Linked DNA regions of Homo sapiens: all the other regions are linked to region 1. Evidence: promoter capture Hi-C in 16 types of primary human blood cells and fetal thymus (Javierre and others, 2016). All regions are on one chromosome and are shown on one strand. The core of a region is centred on a gene start or on the middle of the fragment in contact, and the rest is flanking DNA. Distances in the headings are between cores, read along the strand shown.

What was found. Contacts are between HindIII fragments. The CHiCAGO score rates a contact against its expected background, and 5 or more counts as called.
Region 2: a contact is called between the fragment with the promoter of CD86 here and the fragment with the promoter of CSTA in region 1, in 8 of 17 cell types (monocytes, M1 macrophages, M0 macrophages and 5 more). The highest score is 12.2, in monocytes.
Region 3: a contact is called between a fragment that was not itself captured here and the fragment with the promoter of CSTA in region 1, in 1 of 17 cell types (monocytes). The highest score is 5.6, in monocytes.

The regions. Positions count from the first base shown.
Region 1 is chr3:122,323,519-122,326,681 of GRCh38, reverse strand. CSTA (cystatin A) reads right to left here and starts at 1,434. Exons shown (of 3, transcript NM_005213.4): 1 at 1,324-1,434. The coding sequence starts at 1,389. The HindIII fragment of the contact is 6,914 bases long and covers 1-3,163 here.
Region 2 is chr3:122,053,669-122,056,700 of GRCh38, reverse strand. CD86 (CD86 molecule) reads right to left here and starts at 1,339. Exons shown (of 7, transcript NM_175862.5): 1 at 1,198-1,339. The coding sequence starts at 1,211. It also overlaps a transcript of ILDR1 not described here. The HindIII fragment of the contact is 6,821 bases long and covers 1,307-3,032 here.
Region 3 is chr3:121,852,053-121,855,044 of GRCh38, reverse strand. It overlaps EAF2 (ELL associated factor 2), which reads right to left. Exons shown (of 6, transcript NM_018456.6): 3 at 222-358. Among named protein-coding and RNA genes, the nearest start is that of EAF2, 18 kb to the right of the region's middle. The HindIII fragment of the contact is 3,072 bases long and covers 25-2,992 here.

The DNA of each region.
Region 1 (3,163 bases), core at 185-2,684:
AAAAAGCTCCAAGATATTTATTTAAAAAAAGAACTCTTGAAAGAGAAATAATTAGTCCCCAAGAATGAGTGATGGGATTCTAGGCATCTGGCCCCTTAGAGAGCTTTCTAGTTCCCAGAATATACAGGATCCCAACTCTTATAATCACACAAAAAGCTGATCTTGTTTTCCAAGCTGTCATAGAATGATGTTTCAGAGAGAAAAAATAAGAAGGAATAATATAAGAAAATAAGGCAACAAACTAAAAACCTAAAGTAGTAATTTGTACATGTTTTCCTTTCATAAAATATGCAAATAAATGTTTACTACATAGCTAGATGATAGCTAATCACACAAAGAAAAATATATCAGGGATGGGTGTGGTGGCTCACGCCTGTAATCCCAATACTTTGGGAAGCCTAGGTGAGTGGATGGCTTGAGCCCAGGAATTCAAGACCAGTCTAGCAACAGAATGAAATGCCATCTCTAAAAACAAAACAAAACAAAACCCCCCAAATCAGCCAGGCGTGGTGGCATATGTCTGTAATCCCAGCTACTCAGGAGGCTGAGTGGGGAGGATCGCTTGAACTCAAAAAGTTGAGGCTACAGTGAGCCGTGATCAGACCATTGCACTCCAGCCTGGGTGACAGAGTGAGACCCCATCTCTTAAAAATGAAACAAAACAAAACAAAAAAGAAGAAGTGAAAAACACATCAATCTGCTAACAACATTGAGTTCTATTTTTCCATATATAATTTGGTGCCCTATGACATTTCGGAGTCACTATAGACTGTCACCTCTGTTCTATTAGTTGAATTACCTTTTAACTATGAAAAGACTAAAACACTATCTATTTGGGCAAAAGTGTATGAAGTTTGTAAGTAGATTGCCTTTACAATATTATTCTTCATTCAATCTATTTAAAAAAATTTTCCCTGCAGTGCATTCCAAGACTACTTCATCAAATTGTTAATAACCTTAGACTTCAATTACACGTTGGCTTCACTTGGTGAGATTAGAAAAGTTTCATCAGAAACTGAATTAGTAATTCTAGAATCATATCTTGTAAGAGCTTTAGAGAAGATACAATACAAATTCTTTTACCCATGGAGAAAATGAAGCTCAGAGAAGAAATGTGATTTGCTCAAGGTCACACTCACAGTTTGGGGATTATTTGAGGCTTCATCTGAAAAACTCTTATTTCATCTTAGTTGTAAAGAAACCTGAACAAAGCCACAAACATCCTAAACTTCTGGTTTTCATGTTCAACCACAGCCTTTCCACAGGGACAACTTATGAATCAAGATTTTGGCTCAGACTTTTTCCTGAATGGCATCAACTCACCTTATCAACAATCTCCTGGATTTCTGGAGTGGCGGGTTTGGCCTCAGATAAGCCTCCAGGTATCATTTTGGCTGATTGCTTCTTTGCTGGACAGGATGCTGGAACCAAAGTGAACAGGGAAGTGTGGAGACTCGTGTTTTAAAAGAGGCGTTCACTAGCTCCGCCTATAGAATGCTTTATTTTCCACAAACAGCAAAGAGGCATGGGGAAAATGAGTATGCCGCCAGGCAAGTCTTCTTGCTTCCTGGAGAGAATATGCTACATGGAATTTGGAAGAAAGAGGGGTTGGAGGATGAACAAATGGGCAAGTACAGGAGTCATGTCCTAACAAGCATCAAACGTCCCTGCATTCTCTTTGACAATGGTTCCATCCTGTTGCATCATCTGAATTATGAAATCTGAAGCCGCAACTAGAATTTCCAAATGTTTTAAAACTTCTAACACAAAATTTTATTTTTTTTAAAGCAAAACTTACTAATAATGTCAAGGTTAGTTTAGAATTTACTTGACTTTAGAAAGAAAGCAAAAGGATCTATCTGGAGGACCTTGGCTGGATGTGTCTTCTTTACTCTTATTTAAATATCTGGAAATGTTTAACATACGGTAAAACACAAAGAATAAAATAACAAACATCTATATTTCTATCACTCAGAATTAAAACTTTTAACCCTTTTGTCATATTTGCTTGCTGTTTTTTATTTTTGTAGTTATTTTTAGGAAATAAAATATTACAGATATGGAGGAAGCCCCACACCCCACGCAACCTTGCCTTCCAGAAGGCAAAGTACATGGTGAATTAATATCCTTCCAGGCCATTTTTATATGTGTGTCTTTAAAATTAAAATATGTCTTACTTGGTGTGTCTTTAAAATTTCACTTAAATTGTATGCTAAATATATTCTATGTTATGTTCCTTTTTCTATTCAACATGTTTTTGAGCCTTTCTATGTTGATATACACATAGATCAATCCACAGATAGATCAATCCTGTTCATTTCCTTTAACTGTGATATGCTATTTTATGCTAGACCTATCTATTTAGTCTACCTATCTAATTGCTATATTCTAGTTCATATTTTACATACTCATTTCTCTATTGATGACGATTTTCGTTGTTTCTGGTGTTTCATTCTTACAAACAACGTTGCATTTTTTCTCCTTTTTACATGAGTGAGGGCTTCTGCAGACAACTTATCTAGAAGCAAAATGGCCACATTGTGTGAATATTTATGTATATTATTTTATTCAATTTTGGGAATATATAATACATACACAGGATAAAAATGTTTGGAAGGAACCAGGCTTTACAATATAAGGAATTATTCACTCACTTAATTCCTCAGACACCCTTCTACTCTCCAGAGACAATTATTGGCACCAACTTCTTCTGTATCCTTCAGAGACATTCTTTACACATACAAATATAAAAATAATTGGAGGCTGGGCACGGTGACTCACGCCTGTGATCCCAGCACTTTGGGAAGCCGAGGTGGGTGGATCACAAGGTCAAGAGATTGAGACCATCCTGGCCAACATGGTGAAACCCCATCTCTACTAAAAATACAAAAATTAGCTGGGCGTGGTTGCGTGCGCCTGTAGTCCCAGCTGCTCAGGAGGCTGAGGCAGGACAATCGCTTGAACCTGGGAGGCAGAGGTTGCAGTGAGCCAAGATCGCGCCACTGCACTCCAGCCTGGTGACAGAGCAATACTGTGTCTCAAAAAAAAAAAAAAAAAAAAAATTGGCTACACACACACGCACACACACACATAGATACATATTCATCTATATAGGTTTTCTTTTATAAAAATGGTATCCTACATAAATTATTATACTTTTTGT
Region 2 (3,032 bases), core at 90-2,589, 270 kb after region 1:
AGTAAGCACTGGGTAGATGAAAGTTACTTCGATTTTCAAAGAACAGTAATTATAAATACATAGTGACGGCCGGGTGCGCGGTGGCTCACGCCTGTAATCCCAGCACTTTGGGAGGCCGAGGTGGCCAGATCACAAGGTCAAGAGATCGAGACCATCCTGGCCAACATGGTGGACCCCGTCTCTACCAAAAATACAAAAATTAGCCGGGCGTGGTGGTGGGCGCCTGTAGTCCCAGCTACTCAGGAGACTGAGGAAGGAGAATCGTTTGAATCCGAGAGGCGGAGGTTGCAGTGAGCTGAGATTGCGCCACTGCACTCCAGCTTGGCGACAGAGCGAGACTCTGTTTCAAAAATAAATAATTAAAAATAAATAAATACATAGTGACTGGCGCCAGCTGCCACCACCCAAGAGAAGGGCGGGTGTGACTCCTTCCAGGAAGTCTCCACAGCATGGAGAAACCTTCTGGCGCACCACGAAGCGGGCAGGAAAGATTTTAGCTCTACCCCTTATGAATAGTGTGAACTTGGGCAAGTTTTTTAAGCCACAGTTACCCCATCTGTCAAAAAGAATGATGATGTCTTTCCAAAAGTCATTGTGAAGAATAAAATTCAATGAAATAGCACTAGTAAAGTACCCAGCACATCATGCATGTTCAATACATGGTAACTAATTTAATCACTCTACCTCCTTCCACTACCCAACCCTGCCCAGAATCTCCCATGGCCTGATTATGACATATTAACTGAGTTTTGCATTTTCTCCTTATACCTCTTTTTTCTCTTTCTTTTTCTTGATCTCTCTCCCTCTACCTTCTCTATCTCATTCCTCCACCCTCAGACCAAACTGACCCTGGTAGACAAAAAACATATTCCCTGTTATTTGTCATTCTTATGCAGATATTTTAAAAATTCCTGATTCTTCACTAAAATCAATGACTGTAACATTCAGTATTTGAATAACAGATTTACAAAACCAAAATTAGGCACCTAAAAATATATATAACTACCACCAATGAACTGCTTTGGGCATTGCAAATAATTCTTGCCTTTATGTGCCAAAGATCTTTTGTAGAAAAAGAAAGCTTCTCCACTTAGGAACTAAGTGAAGGACACACATCAAAGCACCATCTTCAACCTCAGCCTTTCACTGCAGTCACAACTCATAACTTCTCTGCAAAGAATAAGAATTATTACTCACCACTGGGGATCCATTTTGGCTGCTTCTGCTGTGACCTAATATCTGGAAATGACCCCACTCATCCGTGTGTCTGTGCTAGTCCCTGTTACAGCAGCAGAGAAGCAAAGCTTTCACCCTGTGCAAGCCTTCCTCGGCAATGACTGTATACCTACCCAGCTAACTTTCTTTAAGAGAAGCTGTTCCTCTTTTCTCTACAGATTTTGACCACACTTGAGGAAGAAATTTAACCCTTTCCTTGCAGTTTAAACTCATTGACGTAGGTCTATATGTATTAAAGAATATATAATTCAGTAGCTTGAGTTCCAGACATGACGTTAAGATGAGCCTGAATAAAAAATCTCCCCTCTTGAAATTCCCTCAAAAAACCTAGAAAATAAAATAATTAGAAAGAGAAAACAAACCTCCGCAGCAACAAAATAGAATAAAGAGGCATTCTACAGATTTTGATAAGATAATAAAAAGTGATTTATTGTGGATGTGGATTGGGAGTGAGTAGCCACCTAACCCTGCCAATTTCCACAACCAAAGTGTGGAGAGTTTCACTGAGCTGGGGTGGGGGGATGGGAGATGGGGAGATGTTCTGTAAGGACTGCATAACCAAGGAGGGCAGACAGAAGCTACTGCTTTTATTATTTCATTCCTACTATAGCCAAGGATTACATTGATGAAAGCGAATATTCTGAAACAGAAGTCTGAAAAAAAGGCAGCATTATAAAATTAATAGATGTCCCTAAGAGACAAACATAGAATTAATCAAGCAGAAACTATACTAGAAGATATTTCCTCGTATGAATTAAAATGGGCATCATCTAGAAACTCAAACTGTTTAGTGTATCAAAGCAAAAGTTATGAAAATCGATTCTCATCCAGACAAATCATTTTGAACATTTTAAATTCCAAAGGCAAAGCTAAAAACAAAATGAAAACAGAATGACTACAGAGAAACAAAAAACAACTTGGCATCTTACTCAACCCTAAATGGCAAAAAACAACAGAACAATATCTGCAGAATTTTGAATTAGCATTATCTACCTAGATAAGATGCCAGTTAAGTGTCAAGTCAATAGAAATATGTCACCAAGCAGGCAAGAAAACAACAACTGCAACAGAAATACCACCACCAAGACAGCCTTCCTAAATAAATTATTTAAGGATATATTCCAGAATAATAAATGAATTAAAATAGCCTTAAAATGGAGAAGCCATGGCTGAAAACACCAGTGCTGAGCTTTAAAGCAAGTTAAACATGGAGAAATAAGGCTAAATAATTATAAATTAGTTTAGACCAAAATGCTAAATAAGAAAAACTTATTAGAAGTAGATTACATATATTATTTCAAGGAAGTTTAAAAATAGCAGATGACATCACTGCTAACTAGAGCAAGGAAGCAAAATCAACACAATTATTAATCTTCAAATAAGAAGATAGAACAATGATTATTTTATCAACTTTGATAATTTCATCTGGATTTGAGAATTTTAAAAAATGAAGACAGCAATAATATAAGTTATCTATCTTCAAAATTATTGCAGAGCAGGAGTGCAAATAAAATAGTATTTATAACTACATAACACATCAGAAATAAGATGAGATAAAAAAATCCATGTAAACCTCATTTGTTATAAATATTAAATATTAAAGGTATGGGATGTCATTTTTCAGTTTCTTGGTAGCAGTGTACACACTCAAATTTCCATTTCTTGGTATCAATGCATACACTCAAATTTTTATTTAAGATAGCATAAGCATTTTCTCCTGTTATCATAAACTTTTTAGTAGTCATTAAATAGTACATTAATAGTACATCAAGTATACACTGTGAAAGCTGGCTGTA
Region 3 (2,992 bases), core at 311-2,810, 470 kb after region 1:
AAGCATTTAGAAGCAAAACAAGCTTTTATATATCACAGGGTAATGTGGTAAAACGCTTTTTGCTTAGGATCTCCACCAAATTTAAACTTAGAAAAAGATTAAAACATTTTTGTACCACACAGAAATAACTCCTATATTATAATGTGACTTAATAAATTTTTTATTGACATTTCCTTAGAAATTTATGTTTATAATATAATTTATTTCATTAAACCACATACCTTGTTTTTTTTACAGTGATGTTGCTGCTGAGTTTTTCTAGCCGACATTCTCCAGTATCATGGTTAATAATCAAAATGCATTCTTTTAAGTAAGGTTTTTTTGAACCTTTGAAAACAGTTACTGGTGGAGTTGAACCCTGTTTAAAAAGTTAATTATTATTACTTAAAATTTATCATAGGAATTCACTTGGGAAGGCCTTTGAAATCTTGATTCTGGGTTTCTCCTTCTATGTTATACTTCAAGTCACCCATAAACTACCTAAATTTACTACCCTGAATCCAAAGAGTGTAGTAAAAAAGACAGATGAAGATAGGCTGAAATCTCAAAGCTGCTGTCATTGAGGAAAGGGAAGACAGGAGGTACTCACCTTGGGACAGTAAAGATTTGTTTCTTTGGCCTATAATGAGTAATTGAGATTCAATTCGAACACAACCAATATATTTTATGGATAAGGAAACAGAGCCTTGAATCATATTTTCTATTCCTCCTTTTTTTTTTTTTTTTTTTGAGACAGAGTCTTGCTCTGTTGCCCGGGCTGGAGTGCAGTGGCACGATCTCGGCTCACTGCAACCTCCACCTCCTGGATTCAAGTGATTCTCCTGCCTCAGCCTCCAGAGCAGTTGGGACTATAGGCATGGACAACCACGCCCAGCTAATTTTTATATTTTTAGTAGAGACGGGGTTTCACCATGTTGGTCAGGCTGGTCTCGAACTCCTGACCTCAAGTGATCCACCCATCTCAGTCTCCCAAAGTGCTGTGATTACAGGCAGAAGCCACTGTGCCCAGCCTCCTCATCTTCTTTCTTATTGCTTTATAAGTTTAATTTTTAAAATCTGGCATTTTCTTAAAGCAGTACCTCCCTATGCATATTAAGGAACACCTCTTACACTAAACCCACTAATTAAATTTAGCATAATTAAAAGTAAGATAAGCAGACATTATGTGCTTAATGATGTCATATGAAAGTACACTGCGCCATCCATAAAATACTCTTGCCAAAAACCACACAAAAACCCCAAAGAATTTAATTCTTATCAAACCCCAAAGAATCTGTAATCCAGCCTGCCCTTAGATATATAACTACCAATATATAGAAAATAGAAGGAATAGAGGAACAAGTTAAATACATCCAGATAGAAGTAATTTGAAGTCCAGAATGTAGGTATATTCTCTAGGACAGATAGTACGGTTTTTCCAACAAACCAATGGCATAAAAAAGAGAAGAGAGCCAGGTGCAGGCACTGTAGTACCAGCTACTTGTGGAGGATGGGTGCTGAAGCAGGAGGACAGCTTGAAGCCAGGAGTTCTAGGCTTCAGTGTGACATAATCACACCCGTGAATAGCCACTGCACTCCAACCTGGGCAACACAGTGAGACCCTGTCTCTAAAAAAGATAAATTAAAAAAGGGGTGGAGAAGAAAGGAAGGGACTTTTAAAGAATAAAAGAGACAAGAAATACAATATTCAAATACAATGTAGAAATCTTATTTGGATTCTAGTTAGGACATTTTACAGACAAATGTCTGTAAAAAACACGTTTTTGAGATCATCACAAAATTGTGACTATGGACGAAGTATTATCAATTATGTTATTTGTGATAATAGCATGGTGCTTAGATAGAAATGTCCTTATCAGTTAGAGATACATAAGTAAGCATTGATGAAATGGCACATTGTCTGGGATTTGCTATAAAATATGCCAAGGAAAAAAATGGTAAGACATTAGATTAAAAAATAAAAAGATTAGCAAAATGTTGATAATTGTTAAAGCTCAGTGATGGGTACATGTAATTCATTATACAATTCTGTTGGCAATAAAAGAAACCTAGATCATTACTAATAAACTACATCTACTTACATGCTCCTCCCCTATCTTTTGTCCCTGCTCCATCAAACCTGAAGGAATTTTACGTTTGTCATTCTTTTGCTTTATCCCACATATATGTATTTCTAAACAATTATTTGTGTATGTTTGTCTTTGGAGTTTATAAAAGTACATTAAATTTTAATGGATTTATCATAATAATTTTATCAAATATTACAAAAATAATAAAATAGTACTGTTAGATCAGGTTAGAAAAGGATGACCTCTAAAAAGGCTAAGTGGTGTATCATATTAAAGTTAATCATTAGAGATTTACTAAATGAGCACTAGGAGGAGTATAAGATAAATTAGGTAATTGAAAATGCCATAAAAGATGGGTAGGTTAGAGATTTCTGAAGGTATGGAGGGAAAATTATAAATGTAAAATAAAGGAACAGTTGTTTGTGGGTTTTTTACCTCTCCCAAAGACTAAAGTAATCTACAGAAAATCAAGAATGCACAACACGTAGATGAAGACATGTCTGGGCTAGCTCTAAAACGGTTAGATGTGGAGCACTTAGTTGAAGCCCTGGTAAGCTGGAGAGTCAGGAGCATGATTATAACCAAACAAAGTGGGTCTACTTGGCTGGTAAGTAAATTTTTCAGATGTGTTGACTGAAACAAGTAAGATACCCCAAAATAGTTACCTAAGGACTCCAAATTACAGTTGATAAGAGATTTGTGCAAGATATTCTTAATGATATCTGTACTCTTAATTAGAATGGAATACATCTAAAAATTACAATGTATTATTGTTCTCTGAGCTCCTGAAAATAAGAACTAATCATTAATTTTTAAAAAATTGCTCTCAGCACCTGAAGAAGTATCAAGACCTTTATAAATATTCAATGAAGGTTAAATATGAATAATATAGACAATTTCTGGTCATAAGTAACAAATGAAAC